3 separate regions of the Homo sapiens genome follow, and regions 2 and 3 are each linked to region 1. Evidence: promoter capture Hi-C in 16 types of primary human blood cells and fetal thymus (Javierre and others, 2016). All regions are on one chromosome and are shown on one strand. The core of a region is centred on a gene start or on the middle of the fragment in contact, and the rest is flanking DNA. Distances in the headings are between cores, read along the strand shown.

Region 1 (2,700 bases), core at 1-2,500:
GAAACTTTCATGCGATGCCTTTGGAAGGCTACAGACATTGTCTTTTTGGAGTTTTCAGTGCATGAAGGTATGAAACCGCATTTATTAAGCACCTACTGTATGCCAGAACCCGTGCTGCACAATACTACTGCTGCTAAGGTGGGAGTGATTCTGAAGCCTTCTGCCACCCTAGCTACCTCTGCAGGTCGTGAGGGGTCTTGGGCTATTTCAGTATCATGCACTTTACTATCCTGGCATACAAAGGCTGGGTGAGAAATAAAATATATAACGAACGGATTACACAGGGGTTTCCTGAAATAACCACCCTTCCCATCCATCCCAGAGACACCCCAAAAGTACTTCTCGTTATATACAAACATTTGCTTTGAACCTCAATCATGTGACCTTGACTCCTATAACCTATCTTATTACATTTTTAAAACACTGTATGATTAACGCGGAAACCCTTTCTTCGGCACTTTCTCGCCACTGGAATCGCGTCAGTTTCTCAAAGTTCCAAAATAACCTTTCCCGGGCACGGATTGGTACCTCTACTGGGGAAGGGCGGGGAACCGCGCAAGACGTGCCGGTGTGGAGCCAGAGCCAGAGAGAACTTCCAGCGCAAAAGGAAAATAAAACTTGTGGCTGGTGTTTGTGCAGGAGGGTCTCCGCCATCCTGAAGCCCCCCGATCCTGGGGCGTCTCGGGGGCCGCCAAAGGAGCGCCAGGGTGTGGGTTTGCTCCCGACGTCCTTGACCTAAATTTCTGAGCGGTGGCTGGAAACAGGGCACAGCGGAGGGCGGGCGGCTGGTGCCATTCCCGGATCTCGGCGGCAGGGGCCGGCAAACTTGAATGGAGAGGGCGAACTAGAGAGGGTGGGGGGCGTCTTCTCCCAGGTCCGGGTGAGGAGCCGCAGCAAGCTCCCCGCGCCTCCCCTCCCCCGATCCACCCGCCCCCCGCAGCCCATGTGATCCAGGGAAGTCGGGGTGCGCTCCCCCTCGCCCTGCGCCCTGCCGGCCCGGAGGCGGGGTCCCCTCCGCCCGCGGGGTTCGCGCGCCACCCTTGTGGGTCCGGCCGTGGGGGGCCGAGTGTGCGCGCGCGGGCAGGCGGGGGCCGCACGGGGGTGCGTGACGTCACCGGCATTGGTTACACGACGTTCTAGAACTCCGCCCCACGTGCGCCGGGGAGGAGGGGGAGGAGGAGGAGGAGATGGGGGTGGGGAGGAGGAGGGGGAGAGGTGGGGATGGGCCGGGGGGGCGGGGACGGGGGGGTGTGCGAGGCAGCGGGGCTGAGCTAAGCCGAGCCCACGTGTGACGGCTCTCGCCGCTGCCCCGGCTCCGCCGCTCGCAGAGAGATTCGGAGGAGCCCGGGCGGGGGGGAGGAGGAGGGGGAGGAGGGAGCGGAGATCTCGGGGCTCGGAGCCGGCCGCCGCTCCGCTCCGATCGCTGTGGGGCTTGGTTTTTTGGGGGTGGGGGGGCGGGGGGGCTCAGATATGGAGGCAAATGGGAGCCAAGGCACCTCGGGCAGCGCCAACGACTCCCAGCACGACCCCGGGTAAGTTTCCAGCCGCTGCCCACCGCGCCGCCTTGGGCTCGCTCTCCTTGCAGCGGCGGGGACGGCGGTGCGCGGAGCCGGGCATCTCCCGCGCCCCCCCGCCTCTCCCGCGCGCCCCCCCCGTGGAAGTTACACACCTTTGGATTGCATTTCGCCGTCACCTTCTCCCCCACCCCACCTCCCGGCTCTCGCTCGCTCGCTCCCCCCCGCTTTCCTTTTAGCTTTTGTAAGTTACACGTCAAAATGGCCGATCTGACATCGGTGCTCACTTCTGTTATGTTTTCTCCCTCTAGTAAAATGTTTATCGGTGGACTGAGCTGGCAGACCTCACCAGGTAAGGGAGGGAGGGGGGGACGCCTGGGTCCCCCCCTTCTTGGCTTCTTTATTGCTCTTTGTTATCCCGGTGTAGGAGCCCCCCCCCCCCCGCCATTGGCTCCCCACTTCTCCTGTGCAAGGTTATTTTTTTTAAATAGCAAATCCTTTCTGAGCCCTCTATGCGACCTCTGTTGCCGAATTTCCCCCGCGTGTGCAAAAAATGCAAAAACAAAACAGAATAACAACAGAAAACTACTTTTGGATTTTGTCCTTGATCAAAATTTGCATTGCTTTTTTTTTCCACACCTTCTCTCCCCCCCCCATCTCTCTCTTTCTCTCTCTACAGATAGCCTTAGAGACTATTTTAGCAAATTTGGAGAAATTAGAGAATGTATGGTCATGAGAGATCCCACTACGAAACGCTCCAGGTAAACCATTCCCTTCTGGATTTTGTCTTTATTTTAGAACAAAGTTTAAGTTTTATTTTTGGAGGTGTCTTCGGAAGTAGCTAAGCGGATTAGAATGGGGCTCAGGCGCGTGGCTGATCTCGAACGGCGCTCTATACCACCCCCACCGCCCCCTAGTAACCCCAGAGGTTATTGTTAATTGGAGCTGAACTCTGGATACAGAGATACCCATCTCTCTGCTTTTAAGTCATTTTCCCGTCGCTTCTTTTTCTCTGTTTAAAATGACATTCAGCTTCATTTACTTTCGCATAGTTTTTTTTTTTCTTTTGATCTTAATGTGTGTTTCCCCCACACTCCCAGCTCCCCAAACTCTTAAGATCCCTCTTAGAAAGATGGTGGTAAATCTCTTCTAAGTGCCGGGCTTTCTTCGGAATAAAACAAAGCGT
Region 2 (2,700 bases), core at 53-2,552, 320 kb after region 1:
AGCACTTTGGGAGGCCGAGGCAGGTGGATCACCTGAGGTCAGGCGTTTGAGACCACCCTGGCCAATATGGTAAAACCCTGTCTCTACTAAAAATACAAACATTAGTGGCACGGTGGTGCATGCCTGTAATCCCAGCTACTTGGGAGTCTGAGGCACAAGAATCGCTTGAAACTTGGAGGTGGAGGTTACAGTGAGCTGAGATGCGCCACTGCCCTCCAGCCTGGGTGACAGAGCGAGAATCTGTCTTTAAAAAAAAAAAAAAAAAAATGACTATAATCGATGTCTAATTTTAAAGAAAAAAAAAAAGGAAGGTTGGGCAGGGCGAGATTTTGACATGGTTTATAGGAAGCCTGGGGTTTTTTTAGTTGACTGTTAAGTTTTCTTTGAGGCAACAGGTGATGGAGCTGCTAAGGACGCCACCACAAAGGGAAGTCCAGTCCGGTATTTGGTTGCACTGCTCAGACCCCATGTGGAATATTCCATTCCAGGCATTTATTTTAAGAGGGGCATTGACAAGATAGACCACATCAGAGGAGGTCGTCTGATGGGGACCAGGACAGTATTACGGGAAAAATTCCAGAGGAACCAAGGAGACTCGAATAAGGAGAAATGAGGTGGCTACGTTAGATCTTGAAGGACTACCCCTGGGAGGGGGGCCAGGCTGCTTCCCCAACCATGAGTGGCCGTTTGTGAAGTTACCAAGAGAAAGGCTGATCCTTGGGCTGAAGAATTTAGCAACACCTCAAGATGCCCAACTCAAACAAGCTGTGTTTATGAAGTACCGAGGGGTGATGCCCCTTTCCCCAGAAATATTCAGAGACTAGAATTGATGAGGCAGCAAGATGGGGCCAGGGACCACTTTGCAAACCACTGGTGGGTCCTGCATTATGAAAGTCCAGCCTGGTCCAAACCGTCCCATTTCCAGACCCATAGAGCCCAACTGGTAATATTTCAGGAGGATTCTGTATAAAATTATATCTTTAAGCCCTGGTCTCCAGTAGATATTGGTTTAATTACCAGTTATTTACTGCCATGCTCAGTAGATGATAGACAAGCAAGAGAAAAGGATAAAATGAAAAAAATTAAAAAGAAAATTCCAAACCCTTTGAGGTAGTAGGAAGAGCCCCCTACTTGCTGAAGATGATTAAGAAATAAAGAGAAAGCTTTTCTTGGAGTCATGATGTAAGCCCAAAGGGAAAGTAGGTTCTTATTTATGAAAAAAGGTTATAACTTAAGCTGTTCAGAAGCACAGCAATTACTTGGAGTAAGATGCCTCTTAATTCATTTGGCCTCCTTTGTAGGTGGCTGAGTAAGTGTTTCTGCGTCCTCGGACTCCAGCCCTTCTTTGGTCGCCACTTGCTTTTGTTCACGGCAGGTCACTGGGTACTCCAGAGGCATTGTTGATAATAACATCTCTTTCCTCCCCCACACCACCCGCAAGCAAAGCTTTGGAAAAACAGCCAAGTGTTCAGCAAAGTGAAGGCTTCGCTTTTCTTCCTCCCCGCTCCTCCCCTTGTTGAGAAATCCCATTATCCGGGAGAATGATTGTGAAACTCCAATCTGTCTGCCGCTGAGCTGTGGGCCGTTCTTCTTGCCTCCTCCGCCCCTGCCCTGGTCCCCTTGTCTATCTGCAGGGGGAAGACAAATATCTATATATTAAAGCTTTAAGAATCTATAAATCTGAGTTGATTCTCTGCTGGTGACAGCCCAAGCTCTTTCCCACCACGTTTGACATGATCTAATGGGTTTACAGTTGTTTGAGTGCTTCTCTGAAGCAAATGAAAGTGCTTAGTTAGGGGACGTATGAAATGGCATTGTTTGTTCTGGGCACTACAGCAAAGCTAGGGGATCATCTTTAAATTATCCACCCTTTCTCTTCAGCCACCCCGCAGAACAAGGGGCTCTGCCGCTGAAGGAGCTGCAAAGACAGTTCCTACTGGCCTTGCCTTTCTGCTTGAGAGGTGCCAGGACTGGGGGGGTAGGATGCATCCCCAGCTGTATTCATTTCGCCAGGAAGCTTGGGGCTAATTGGGAACAGAAGAATGCCCAGGGGATGAGGGGAAGGGGACGGGAGAAGGATGGTCTCACCAAGGTAGAGGAGTGACAAATACTTGCTTCTAGCAAAACAGGAGTAAAAACAAGAGAGACTCCTAATGAGAGCTTTGGGGCAGTTTGTGCTTTCCATTCTCAGGGGCCAGCAGTGTGGGTTGGTGTGATTAGTTGCCTTGCTACTTGGCGCAAAACCAATTCCTCTTTTCAATATCAAGTTTCATAAGCGTGGAACAGTAACAAATCATTATAAACCCTCTGGGACTGGTGGGTGTGTGATGATGCGGGGTTGTTTTTCTTTTTCCCCCTCCTCTTTGATAAGCCCATCTTTTCAGCCCAGGTACATTTTTCCCATTGTAAACAGAAAATGGCATGGGAGGGAGTGTGTCTCGGAAACTTGCTGTATTGTTAATCTGTTATTAGGCAAAAGTCTTAACACCAGGCTGGGTGCTCAGATGCCTCATTGTGAGCTGGGGATGGAATTATGCATCATGAATAAAAACCGCTGTCAACATGCATTGGTTTCAAAACATTAGAGCATATGGTATGTGATTATCTGTATTGTCAAGTGCAATAAAGTGAATTTGGATATAATAAAGGATGTAATATTTTAGAAATTTGGTAATAAACTAAGGAAAGGATGACAGCTGA
Region 3 (2,700 bases), core at 97-2,596, 460 kb after region 1:
CACTACAACTCCACCAAGACTTGTTTGCCTTCCCTGCTTCTCCATTTTCCAAGGAATTGCTGCCCCTCTGCCCTGTCTGGAGGCCTGTCTGGGCTGTCTGTGTGCTTCCTGGCTGCAGCAGCCTTGTTGGTCCCTGATCTGTCGGCATGCGGAGAGTCTGCAGGAGGGACTCTGCAGTGTCTTCTGAGCCTTGGCATACAGAGGAGCCATCAGGCTGGGTGATGGGCAGCCTCGGGTGGGGGCCTGAGAGTTTCTTCTACTTCTCCTTTTCCTTTCTCCTTTCTTCCTGCCCCTAGGAAACCAGCTCCATCTGGTCTTTGAGATTTGCTTCTGGAGTTTGAGGCTGGGGAGATATTGTCCTGATTCCCATCTGGGGTGGGAGTGGTAGGTATGGGTGCTGGTAGACCCTCTCTTCTTAAAGGGGAGCAGCTACAAGACAACAACCATTCTCGCCACCTTGCATAGCATTGCTTTGAAGGATTATACCAAAAATAGCCTATTCCATGAAGTGAGGACAGGAGAAAAAGAAGAAGATAAAGAGGACAGGCAACACCATCCTACCTCTTACATAGCCATGCTCCTCATCCCCCAATCCCATCCTCCAGCTCCTTATCCCCTTCCCCTCATCCCCCATTCTTTTATCCTCTCATCTCCCTACCCCATCCTCCCCTATCCCTTCATCCCCCATCTCCCATCCCCCCAGCCCCTTGTCCCCTTTTACTTATAGTCTTTGGAGGAGAATAGAAGGGGAAGCAGGAGAAGAGCGGCTTCCTGGAGTTCTTGCAGACCCTGAACCTTGCTTCAGACACCTCTAGGACACCAGCATGAGGGATGCCTTCCAGCAAAGCTTACACCTGCAGCATTCCCAAAGTCACAGACATTTCTTCTCAAGCAATGGATAATAAAAATAGAGTAACTCATCACCGGAGTCTTGAAACTCTAAACACTGAGAACCACCTATCCGGGTCAAGTTCTCTCTTTTTTTGAAGGTCAGAGAGAATAAGTGACTTGCCTAAAATTACACAGCTACTAAGCTCAGGGCCAACAGTGGAACCAGGCGTTCTAACCCCCTCTTGGGAGTCTCCTCCCACCATGCCAAGCAGCCTTAGACAGGGGCACATGATGAGAGTCCCCTCCTTGCCAACCAACATGTTGACCTATATTCCAGGACCTGGATGGCTCCCTAGTTTTCCAAATCATTTACTCAAGGGCCCTCAAACCCCTTCTTCCCATTCAATTTCCTCATTACTCCTTAAAAGTGATAGTCTAAGAGGTGCCTTATCTTGGAGTCTTTATGCCTGGCACAGCTCATAGAAGCACAACATAGACTATGTGGTATGGTAGAACTAGACCTGGCCTGTGAGGTGCCTGGTGCTAAAATTTAGGACAAACCCAATGGTAGGTGCTGTTGGAGGAAGAAGAGTCTGGCAGGAAGAACATAAAACCTGGTGGATAGCACAGATATCATCCTGGTGGTGCTTAGCATCGGGGAGCCCCATTCATTGGGGACAGGTTGCCCCAGCCCATGGACAAAACTCTTGCTCCATAACTGCCCACACAGACGAGCTAAGTTCACATCTTCACCATCATCAAGGTGGTCTAGGTCAGCTCAGCCAGGAGGGTTCTCCCCACCACCCTTCACAGTCCTCTGATTCTACCCGGAAGCTAAGGAGCAAATAATTTTAGCCCTTTCTTGGTGGAGATGGCAACGGCTGGATCCTAGCTAAGGTATCAGAGGTGTCAGTGTCAAAGGAATGGCAGAATGGCCTAAACTTACCCTATGGTGATAAAGTCATTAAGAAAGGAGGCAGGAGCTAGAGAGGCCTTCAATTATTTTTCATCTCCCAAGCTTTCTGTGGAAACCCTTGGTGAGATCCTTATTTTCTTCGACAAAGGAGTTTTGGGAATGAAGTGGAAAAGAATAGAGTCTGCCTTCACAAGAACTAGTTAAACAAGTCTTTGTGGAAGAGAAAAATCGTCAGAGGAGGGTGAACCCAGACTCAAGTCAGGAGAGCTTGAAAAAACACACAAAAACCATGTTGTCCACAACCTGAAGGGCTTCTGAGCTGTCGTGGGAGCAAGAAGAATCTGCCAACTGGAGCGGATGGTGACATGGGACTGGGTGGTAAGGAGGAAGCAGAAACACCTCACCTCTTCACTGAGTTCCAAATGTCTGTATCACAGAGGACGGTCTTCAAACACAAAAGGGTCAATCAAACACAGTTAAGAGAGAATAGATCCATTCCTGGAATTCTGTCTAAAGGAAGGAATCTTCAGTAGGAAAAAAGGCATGCACAAATTATTGCAGTGTTGTTTAATGAAAAATTGGAAACAAATAAAAGGAAGGCCCCAAACAAGAGACAATTTAAGCAATCTACAGAGCGTCCAGTCTATGGACTCTTACAAAGCAATCAAAATGCCTCCAGACTTTGTAAGAGCCTGGAAACTACATGCTGACATGTTAAGTAAAAAATAAATAAACAGGCCGGCGCGATGGCTCACGCCTGGAATCCCAGCAACTTTGGGAGGCCGAGGTAGGCGGATCACCTGAGGTCAGGAGTTTGAGACCAGCCTGGCCAACATGGCAAACCCCCAGCTCTACTAAAAAAAAAAATAAAAAATTAGCCAGGCATGGTGGTGCACACCTGTAATCCCAGCTACTCAGGAGGCTAAAGCAGGAGAATCGCTTGAAACTGGGAG

Evidence for each region. Contacts are between HindIII fragments. The CHiCAGO score rates a contact against its expected background, and 5 or more counts as called.
Region 2: a fragment that was not itself captured here is called in contact with the fragment with the promoter of MSI2 in region 1 in 1 of 17 cell types (megakaryocytes); the score reaches 5.4 in megakaryocytes.
Region 3: a fragment that was not itself captured here is called in contact with the fragment with the promoter of MSI2 in region 1 in 3 of 17 cell types (total B cells, naive CD8 T cells and M0 macrophages); the score reaches 6.6 in total B cells.

Annotation. Positions count from the first base shown.
Region 1 is chr17:57,255,273-57,257,972 of GRCh38, forward strand. It overlaps MSI2 (musashi RNA binding protein 2), which reads left to right and starts at 1,251. Exons shown (of 14, transcript NM_138962.4): 1 at 1,251-1,532; 2 at 1,826-1,866; 3 at 2,194-2,275. The coding sequence starts at 1,471. LOC101927510 (a long non-coding RNA gene) reads right to left here and starts at 1,724. Exons shown (of 3, transcript XR_007065860.1): 1 at 1,670-1,724. RefSeq lists a silencer at 806-1,435. The HindIII fragment of the contact is 32,545 bases long and covers 1-2,700 here.
Region 2 is chr17:57,576,506-57,579,205 of GRCh38, forward strand. All of the region lies in intron 7 of MSI2 (musashi RNA binding protein 2), which reads left to right. Among named protein-coding and RNA genes, the nearest start is that of MSI2-AS1, 31 kb to the right of the region's middle. RefSeq lists an enhancer at 2,450-2,700. The HindIII fragment of the contact is 283 bases long and covers 1,162-1,444 here.
Region 3 is chr17:57,715,621-57,718,320 of GRCh38, forward strand. No RefSeq gene overlaps it. Among named protein-coding and RNA genes, the nearest start is that of CCDC182, 28 kb to the right of the region's middle. The HindIII fragment of the contact is 1,002 bases long and covers 846-1,847 here.